2 separate regions of the Homo sapiens genome follow, and region 2 is linked to region 1. Evidence: promoter capture Hi-C in 16 types of primary human blood cells and fetal thymus (Javierre and others, 2016). All regions are on one chromosome and are shown on one strand. The core of a region is centred on a gene start or on the middle of the fragment in contact, and the rest is flanking DNA. Distances in the headings are between cores, read along the strand shown. Region 1 holds the start of TSPYL1 (TSPY like 1). Region 2 holds the start of TUBE1 (tubulin epsilon 1).

The links. Contacts are between HindIII fragments. The CHiCAGO score rates a contact against its expected background, and 5 or more counts as called.
Region 2: the fragment with the promoter of TUBE1 here is called in contact with the fragment with the promoter of TSPYL1 in region 1 in 1 of 17 cell types (total CD4 T cells); the score reaches 6.6 in total CD4 T cells.

Annotation. Positions count from the first base shown.
Region 1 is chr6:116,278,084-116,282,579 of GRCh38, forward strand. It overlaps TSPYL1 (TSPY like 1), which reads right to left and starts at 1,847. Exons shown (of 1, transcript NM_003309.4): 1 at 1-1,847. The coding sequence starts at 1,747. The coding sequence ends at 434. It also overlaps a transcript of DSE not described here. RefSeq lists enhancers at 1,211-1,260, 1,281-1,550, 1,781-1,840. The HindIII fragment of the contact is 6,415 bases long and covers 1-3,176 here.
Region 2 is chr6:112,084,622-112,089,276 of GRCh38, forward strand. It overlaps TUBE1 (tubulin epsilon 1), which reads right to left and starts at 2,861. Exons shown (of 12, transcript NM_016262.5): 1 at 2,789-2,861; 2 at 2,612-2,685; 3 at 1,935-1,987. The coding sequence starts at 2,813. FAM229B (family with sequence similarity 229 member B) reads left to right here and starts at 2,970. Exons shown (of 4, transcript NM_001033564.3): 1 at 2,970-3,099. RefSeq lists enhancers at 2,391-2,440, 2,575-3,106, 2,841-3,030. The HindIII fragment of the contact is 2,028 bases long and covers 1,463-3,490 here.

The DNA.
Region 1 (4,496 bases), core at 597-3,096:
TCCAGTAACTGTCCACAGGGCATGTGCCCATACTGCTCAATGCAGAGCTGAGTAGGTGGAACAGGCTCCCAAAGCTAGAAATCCAAGTGACAGCAACCAGTTCAGAGGCCCTGGGAATAAACAGGGTCCAAGCAGTGCAGATAAAGGCAGTACAATCTACAGTATCATTTGCTTGGCTTACAAGTAGTGTGAAGGATGACCTCGTAGCATGTGATATTCCAGAACAGCATGAAGGTCATATGGAAGTGGAGAAGCATACCCACCACCGTCTCAATCTTGAGGTTGAGAGAACTGAATATCCAAAGGAAACAGGGTGCAGAAAAGTCAGCAAAAACAAAGCACAATAGAAGGCATACTCATTGCTGATGCCCAAGCACAGGTCCAGCAGAAGGTGGTAGGAGACCTTGTGCAGGAGTATTCCCAAGGGCAAATGTTAACCAGACTGGAACCCAAAGGGCCTGGGGATCTCTACAGGCTCCCTTAGCGGGCGACGTCGGGCTCTACGGACTCCTTCACGCAACAGGTAGTATTGCAGTGGATTTGGCCACAGATCCTCTTTAATAATCTCAGCAATTTTGTCGGACTCTGGAAGGCTGTGGTCTGAAAACCAAGTGAAGAAGCTGCAGATGAGGTCTTGGTTTCTGCGAATGAAGGACTGGGGTTCATGCCCCCTGCGCCATATAATTGGAGTAGAAAGAGACACCACTCGGCCGGAGGATCTTACCTCATATTCCTTGACAATCAGCTTGTTTCTGAAGTAGGGGTTTCTTCTAAAGAAGAACTTGAACTTGCAACCGGTTCTAGGGTGTCTGAGTTCCTTCACCTCTAAATTGGTTATGTACCTTAACATCTCTGCATCTTGGCCCCTAATCATGGCGGACAACTGGGGGTGGTTTCGAAAAGCAGTCATCCAGAAGCCCGGGATATTCTGAATGATGTAGTTCCTCCGCTCCAGGTAGTGTCGACGCATCCGCCCAAACTTGTGCTCCAGCTGTTGGAAGGCCCTGTCGGCCTGAGCATTCACAGTGTCCAGTTCCAGCTGGATGGCCTCCAGAGGGTCCATGCGGAGAGCCTCATGCAAAGGCCAGGGCCCTTCTTCCTCCCTCGCCTCCTCCTCCAATCTATCCTCCTCCGCCACTTCTATTTCTTCACCTTCTGGCGGCTGCTCCTCTACCTCCATCTGCTCCTCCATTACCTCCTTCTCCGCCAGGCCTTCCTTCACCACCTCAGCGCTCTCCCTCTCAGCCACGGCTGCTGAGACGGTGGCGCACTTTCCTGTCTTCACCTCCTCCGCCTCAGCCTCCGCCCCCGCCGTCAGCTCAGACGCGGATCTCTGGGCGCCACAGATTTCTAGGGCCTTCTCTCCACCCTGAACGCCCTTTTTCAGGCTGCGGTCGGCTGCCATCACCACAGAAGCGGCTGCCAGGCCTTCGGCGGGAGGCTGGCCCTCTTCCTGCCCGGCTTTGATCGCCACATGACCGCGACCCCCAACAACTCGGATCTGGGGAGTACCGCCACGGCCCGCGGCATCCTGGGGTACGCCCCCCTCCTCTGAAGGCGGTGGAGGCGGGAGCGCGACGGTCTCCGAGCCTCCCTCACCCGGCTCCGCCATCACCTGTGTCGCCTCGCTTTGGTCGCGGAGCCTCAGGTACTGGTGTGCGTCCTGGTCGCTCGGGACTTGGTCAGAAATAATGATGCTGTGGGTTTGGAGGGGAGTGGTCCTCTTGACCCCATCCAGGCCGCTCATGTTGCTAACAGTCGGACCAACCGCAGGCGAACGCCCGTTTTCCTCAGAGGCCGAACTGGGAGCTAACCGCCGCTCGCACCGCCCACCCTACAGTCTCACTAACATTTCAGCGGCGGTGTCGTCAGGACTGGAGATCTCACGGTATCGCGAGAACTTGCTGAGCCCGGGATTGGTTCCGCCGCTCCCTGCCAGCCAACCGGATTCTCTGGGCTTTATTTCTGTGAATTTACCCATAGCAACAGTAATTTTACCTACGTAAATAAATGTCGATTGTGCTGAGTCTGGAAGCGCGGACGACCCACCTTGAGATGCATCTAGCGACTGCTCCCAGCATGTAGGAGCAGTTGTAAAATCACAGCCGTAACAGTGCCTGCTCTCCAGTGTCTGAAAACAAATGTTTTTCTGGTCTTCACTTTTTTGAGGCAGGAAGGTAAATCTATTCCCTGTTACTCCACGTAACTAGCAGCAAAAGACTTCTCTTTAAGATTAATAGCAAAATGTTTCCCCCCTTCTTAGTAAAAGTGACATAAAAATATCAATTCTTGCCTCTACGGTTACTGGGGAAAAAAAGCTACTCAGCAGCCTCTTACCACTAAAGCGATGCATAGTATTCATTGCTAATTTTCGATTTATAATCTGCATCAAATAAGAGTTTGTGCTGCATAGTATCGGTAGAAATTAAGCCAGGATCAGTTTGCTAAATGTTCCATGCCTTTTCACTGCAAGAAAGAGGAAATTATAACTATTTCCAGCCCCAAGAACTTAATTTATTATCATATTTAGTTATGTAAGATAGGAATGTTTGGCTCTAACGAAGCATCTGTCTTTAGCAATCAGCTGAGTTCATTAGAGGGGGATGTCAATGTCTCTGGTTGAAGTGTTCCAGTTTGTTGACTTGTGAGTTAAACTGGTGCTGTCTTAGAGAGCTACAAGGCCTCAGAGAAATATCAGTGGGGGGAGCCACATACCACCATTTTGTGAGGAAAGGCTAGTTAAAATGGACAACTAAGATGGCCTTGAAGTAGAAAACAAACTTGCAAAGGGCAACATGCAGCTGGTGGACTCAAGGTATAAAAGAGGCAAACGTTATTTTCTACTTAATTTGCTTTGTGTGGTAGTAGCCTGATGGCCCTCAAAGATGTACCTGTCTTAGTTATGCGGCCAAAGGGACTTCGCAGATATGATTAAGTTAAAGATTTGGAGATGAGAAGATGATTCTGGATTATACAGGTGGGCCCTATGGAATTACAAATTTCTTATAAGAAGGAGGCAGGAGGGTCAGTCAGAGAAGATAAGAGGACGAAAGCACAGAGAGAGGGAAGGAATGGTGGAGAATAGGTGTGGGAGGGAGGAAAGGGAAATCGCTATGTTGCTGGCTTTGAAGATGGAGGAAGGAGCCAGGATCGTAGGAATAAAGGCAGCCTCTAGAAGCTTGAAAGGTAAGGAAATAGATTCAATCCTAGAGCCTCCAAAGGAATGACAACACCTTGAGGTTATTACCTCTAAACTCCAGCACTATAAGAAAATAAATTTGTGCATTTTAAGCTATTAAATTTGTGGTAATTTGTTACAGAAGCAATATGAAATGAATACACCTTGGATTAAGGTTTGGTTGCATCTATGGGTGCCTCAAGTTGTTTCTAATAGCAGCCCCTTCTACCTTGCTCATGGCTTCCCGTGAGTTCCTGCCCAACAGCTGTGATGTATTACAGCTTGAATCTGTCTTTCAATATCAAGACCAGAAATATACTTAGGCAAATGCACAGAAAGACAAAATTAAAGCCTAAACATACCACAAACGATATCTGAGGAGACTGTAAACTGCAAGAGGACATGATCATGGTTTCGTTTCCCTCTGTTTATCGAGTGCCTAGCACACTACCTTACACAGTATCCCATAGATTATTAAAATGTTAAATAAAGGAGCAAATGAGCAGAAAACAGTTTCTCTTGCTTGCAACTTGCTCCTTGCGGAAGAGAAGTAAGGGGCATATGGGTTGTCACTCTGCTCTCCTTCCTATCTGCCACTGGCAAACCAGAGGGCTGCTCTATTCTATATAGTAACAGTTTCCTACTCAGGAGAATGAATTTCTATATATGTTTCAAAGGCTCTAAAAGGATAGGAAAAACACAGAGAAAACAATTTTATTTTACAAATAATTTAAGTTTGTGTGGTCACACTGTATGACAAACGAACTCTGAAAAGACCAGCATATTTAGGTGAGTTTACATATCAAAGCCTCGGACTACCAGCACTGTATTTCCAATTCTCTCCTTTCTGAAAAAGTCAAGGTAATCATTTCAGGCTTTACTTCGTTTCTGTCTACAGAAATATATAATGCATTTCTCTCTACAAGTGATGGAGCCTGTGATGCATGGCTGGAATTACTTTTGGTGTAAATAAAAAGGAATATTGGAACTTTCCACAAAGACTGTTTCTAATTGCCATGAAATCATCTTCTATTTTGAACTGGTATAATTTCATTCGGCCTAAAGTGGAAACTTCTATTATTCCAATATGTCTCCTATTTTTTTTTAAGCAGAAAGGAGTGTCAGGCTTGGACCAATCTTAGAATATATGGCTTTATTTGTCAAAGAAGCCATTATGTAATTAATGTAATTAACACTCTTACCAGTAATGCTAGGAAAACTCTAATTAGGATCATGTAAGTATAATCAGGACTCTGCTGAATGTAATTTCCCCCAAATAACGTTGAGACTCTTTAAAGGAACTCTTCCTTCTCTTCTT
Region 2 (4,655 bases), core at 1,611-4,110, 4.2 Mb before region 1:
TGAAGTAATAATACAAGTACAAAAAGCCAACACACTTATGGACAGTGGAACATATATAGTATTAGATCTTTGAGGCATTCCTTTAAACCTAGAACATCTGATTTGCAGATTTGTGAGATAAATGAATACCTTTACTGCCTCAGCCACCATTAATGTAGTTTTCTATTGCAGTTAACACCCATCAACTGATATAACTGGTATTTACCATTGAGTATCTAAGGTTGTTCTCAGAATTTCACGTTGGAAATAAGTTGCCAAAGTACTAAAATCTAACGCAGTATATGGGTCAATAAAGACAGTTCACAAGACGGAATATATGAAGGGTAGCCAATCATCAGGCCAAATTCAACTAGCTGCCTGTTTTCCTAAATAAAATTTTATTCAAATGTGGACACACCCATTCCTTTATGTATTACCTATGCCCACAATCATGCTACAGATCAAGTAGTGGTGCAAAAGACTTTATGGTTCACAAAACCTAAAATATTTACTGCCTGGTCCTTTACAGAAAATATATGCATGCCAACCCATGCTGTAGGTAAATTCCTATCATGCTACTCAAAAGGTATAAAAATTTGATAAGAATAGTACACAAAGATATGGTTTTACTTTGAAAAATATTTTTTGTACTAAGCTGTGGAACAGATGCTGCATGTGTTGATAGTACACAGAAAGAAGTGCAAGATGCCACAACCCTGTTTGCCAAACTTACCGGGAAAATAATAGTGCTCTCAGGTTAAAGTATAAAACACACAGAGTAGATGAGAGTGTAGTTATGAAGAGTCACCTTATGAAGAAAGAAAAGCTCCCAGGCTGAGTCTCAACTATGTAATACTCAATGTAAGCGTTGGGTAACAAGAAGTAAAGAGGTGGGTGTAGGAACTTAGCAAGAGAAGCGCCGGAAAGGAAGTATGACAGAAGCAAATTTGAGTCTCCTAAGAGAATTTAGAGGTGAGGATATTGTGGGCTACAAATAAGAGGGAATCTATAGTCTATATGACAGATATCTCCATAAAATAAATATAAATGATACCAGCCATTAAAGTAACTAACTTCCTTTGGTCTGATTCCATGGTCACCAAGCAACCTTCAGATTATTACACAGCTTTTCAGTTAGATTTCCTACAAAAGATAAAGTAATGTGCCTATGAAAATGAGAATTTGGTCTTTGGTTAACCTGGCTGTACTGGAGAGCACTGAACCCATCTCGAGATGCCAATGACACTTCTGAGTTTGCAAGCCAGTGCCCTAGATAGACTCTGGAATTCACCCAGGAAGCGCGGACTAATCAGCTTTCTCTGAAGATAACTGCTCACACACCCAGCCAACTATTTTAAACTAGAACTGATGTTCCTATTGGATTAAAGCCTGACACGAAGTATGTATTTTTCAGTTTAAGCACAGGACAGTTAGTTTTATGAAGTATTTTGAAAATGCATGAACTTAATGATTTAATATTAAAAGCTTATGGAGATATCCTAAACGGCAACTTAAATTACTCTTCCAGATAAAACATATATGGTACTTACATATACTCTTTATTAAATAAACAAAAACAATCCAACAACTGCTTGTCACCTTTTTAAGTATATTTTTATACTTACAGCATATATGTAAACAATATATTTTTCTTTCAAAAGTTAGTTATTACAGGATGCATTAACAAGATGCCCTCTGGGAAAATTTCAGCTTTCTTTTAATGAAACTTATTTCAAGGTTAAGTTAAAAGAAGTCACACTAAAGGGAAATCTGTTGTCTTCTTCGGGAAAATGATATAAGAATATTAATAATCTAATAGAATAAATATGCTTTCAATAATGAAACAAAAAAACACAACTTCGCAGCTGGCTATTTTTATTGTCCTTTGAAGAATTCTCTCCCAAGCTACTGAAACTTAAAGTATCACACTGTGACAGACTTTAATCCCATCTTACCTGGTGTCCACATTTCTAAAGAAGCTGCTTATTGCCTCATCATAAATTCCTTTCTAAAAAGAAAAACATATGTTAATAGCATTTAGGTTTTGCTTCTCGCCCAAATCAAGTTCTTTCAATTTTAATTACATAATACTGTAATGGCTAGGATGAGACTCTGATAAGAAAAACCAAGTATCACAAAATGCGGAGCCTGACTCTTCCCAATCTCCTTAGAAGAGTAAATGCCAGATCTACAGATAAAAAGTTCAGCAGGGGGTGCTAAAGAAAGGATTTCACCCATAGGACTGTAGGACAGGTCCATCAAATGAGCGTTCTCTGGATTCTTCGTAATCTTTTTAAAAGCTGACTGGTTAAATTAAGGAATACAATAACCACACGTGTTATCTATTTTACAAAGTACTTTCCCATATACAAATCTCACTGTTCTGCACACGAACACCAATAAAGAGGAGACCCTGAGAATCAGGAAAAACGTTAAGACTAAGGTCGCTGGCCAGTGTTCTTTTAGTTTAGTGTGTGTCTGACGCAACATGTTTAAAAACCAGTACGTTCTTTACTGGGAAGATCCCATGCATCTTAAACGGGTCAGATGAAAGCTCAAGTCGATTATTTCCTGCGTATGGGCTGGAAGACCTAGCTGACAGGCGAGGGGGCTCGCGGCGGCGGGCGGGTACCTGGTTGACCGCGGCGTGCTCCCTTAGTGCCAGGTCCCAGAAGCAGCAGCCGATCTGGTTTCCGCACTGGCCGACTGCGACCGGAGGAGAGGAAGGAAAGAGAATAGGACATTAAGCAGGAAACATGGCCGCTGGATTCCGCGGCGACCAGGTCTCTACCCGCCCGGCGTAGCTTACCCTGTACGACCACCGACTGGGTCATGGTGGTGCGCCGCCGGCTCCGGGAGCTTGCTAGCCCGCGGCCGCTTCTGCATTCCCCCAGCAACGGCGCTCTGCTAGAGAGCTGCCGTAAGTCACGCTACTGCCGCAAGCCTCTGCCGTCGCTAAGCACGTCTGTAGGTTCAGGCTAAGGTTTTCCGTCAGAAGGCCGCGCAAGTGCACTTGCGTGTCACCGTTACCGTAGCGACTGGGCTTCTGGACTGTATATCCTAGCTGCCTTGTCAACATCTTCGAGCATCGGCAGCTCCGGAGGCCGGGGTAACTGGCAGGTAACTAGGCTTTGGAGTGGTATTTTAAAATATGTGTCGTTAAGCTGTTCGTGGGCTATCAGAGGTTTAATTTTTGTTCACAGCCTCAACACCCGGGGCGGTGGATCAGTCCGTTTATTCAGATTCCACGGGACGCTGCGTTGGCATCTCTGTTCAACAAGCCCTTTATTCTAATAGAAAATGAACAATGGCGTTGAGCAAAGAGAAACCCCAGAGAAATAGTCATGTCAGGGCACAATTGAAACTAGATGGTTATACGCTTTGACAAAAATGGCAAAGCTAAGGTCACAGACCCAACCAGTATTTGTTGAACGCTGTATACTCCCCAAATTAACTTGTAGGCTCGCTGGGAAGATTAGAAAGAAATTAAGGCATAGATCCAGTTCCAAGAAGCTTACAATCTAATTGAAGACATACACGCGAAATACTTAAAGAATTGTGTGGCGTTGACTATAAGTGCAATAGGATTCAGTGGTTGAGGATGTAGATGAGTATGTAGAAGTCTGATAGAAGACACGAGATTAACACTAGGCATTTAGATGGGTATTTAGATGGGATAGGCAGGAGAAGATTAAAAAGTTAGGCATTATGACAATTACCAACTACTTAAAATTGTCAAACATTAAAATATGTAAACTTCTATTGATCAAATTAGACCAGATTTTAATTAAGAACTCAAGTACTTCTTTAATGAAATTAATATTTTCCACAAAAATTCTGAAGAACTACGAAACTCTAAGAAGTCTTCTTTGTTTAATAAAAAGTTATATGGTATGTGCTATGAATATGTGCTAATATGAACTGTAATATTCAATGGATTAGAACACTTTATTGTCCCACCAAGACACGTAGTAGTTACTATTAAATTTCTCTGGTAGCCGGTAGGTTTAAAGTTGCAATGGATTTTATATCTTTTGGTAATAGGCAGCTTTCGGTCAGTAAATTTTTGTAGGCTGGATTTATTCTTAACTTCTTACTGAGTATGGGGTCAGTGGTAGAGGTAAAGTTGGGCATTTTAGGTCTTGATGCTAAAGTCCCAACGTCTGGGGCTTCCAAAATTTGCAAGTCTTGGTCCAGTTTGTAGGCAGTGATGTGAATAGGTCTGTATCAGTGTGTTATCAGTGCTAGGTGAGATGATACACTGGCCTTTGCAGAGCCCTACCCTTCATGCAGTCCCAGTCATTATTCCCCACACAGGAAAGAAAAGTCCTAACACATCTTATTAATAACTTCAGTCTCTAGAGAATCAGACTGAGAGACAGTTCTGCTTAAGAGCCAAGCAAGGTAGAGCCTCACATGCCAGCCACTCCAAAACTTCCGTATATGCAAACCCGGGTGAGCCAAGTTGAGATCGGTTGAACCGCAGCGGGCTATTCAGAATATTATAAGCAAGAGAAATGTTTTTGGTTGAAATTACTGAAATTTTGGGGTGCAGTTTTATTGTAGTGATAGCTGACCAACATACAGAGCAAATAGAGTGAACAGAATTCCACATGCTGAAAATGAAAAAGAAAAAAATTATTGGGAATCCTATGGACTCCTAAAATTGAAGGAAG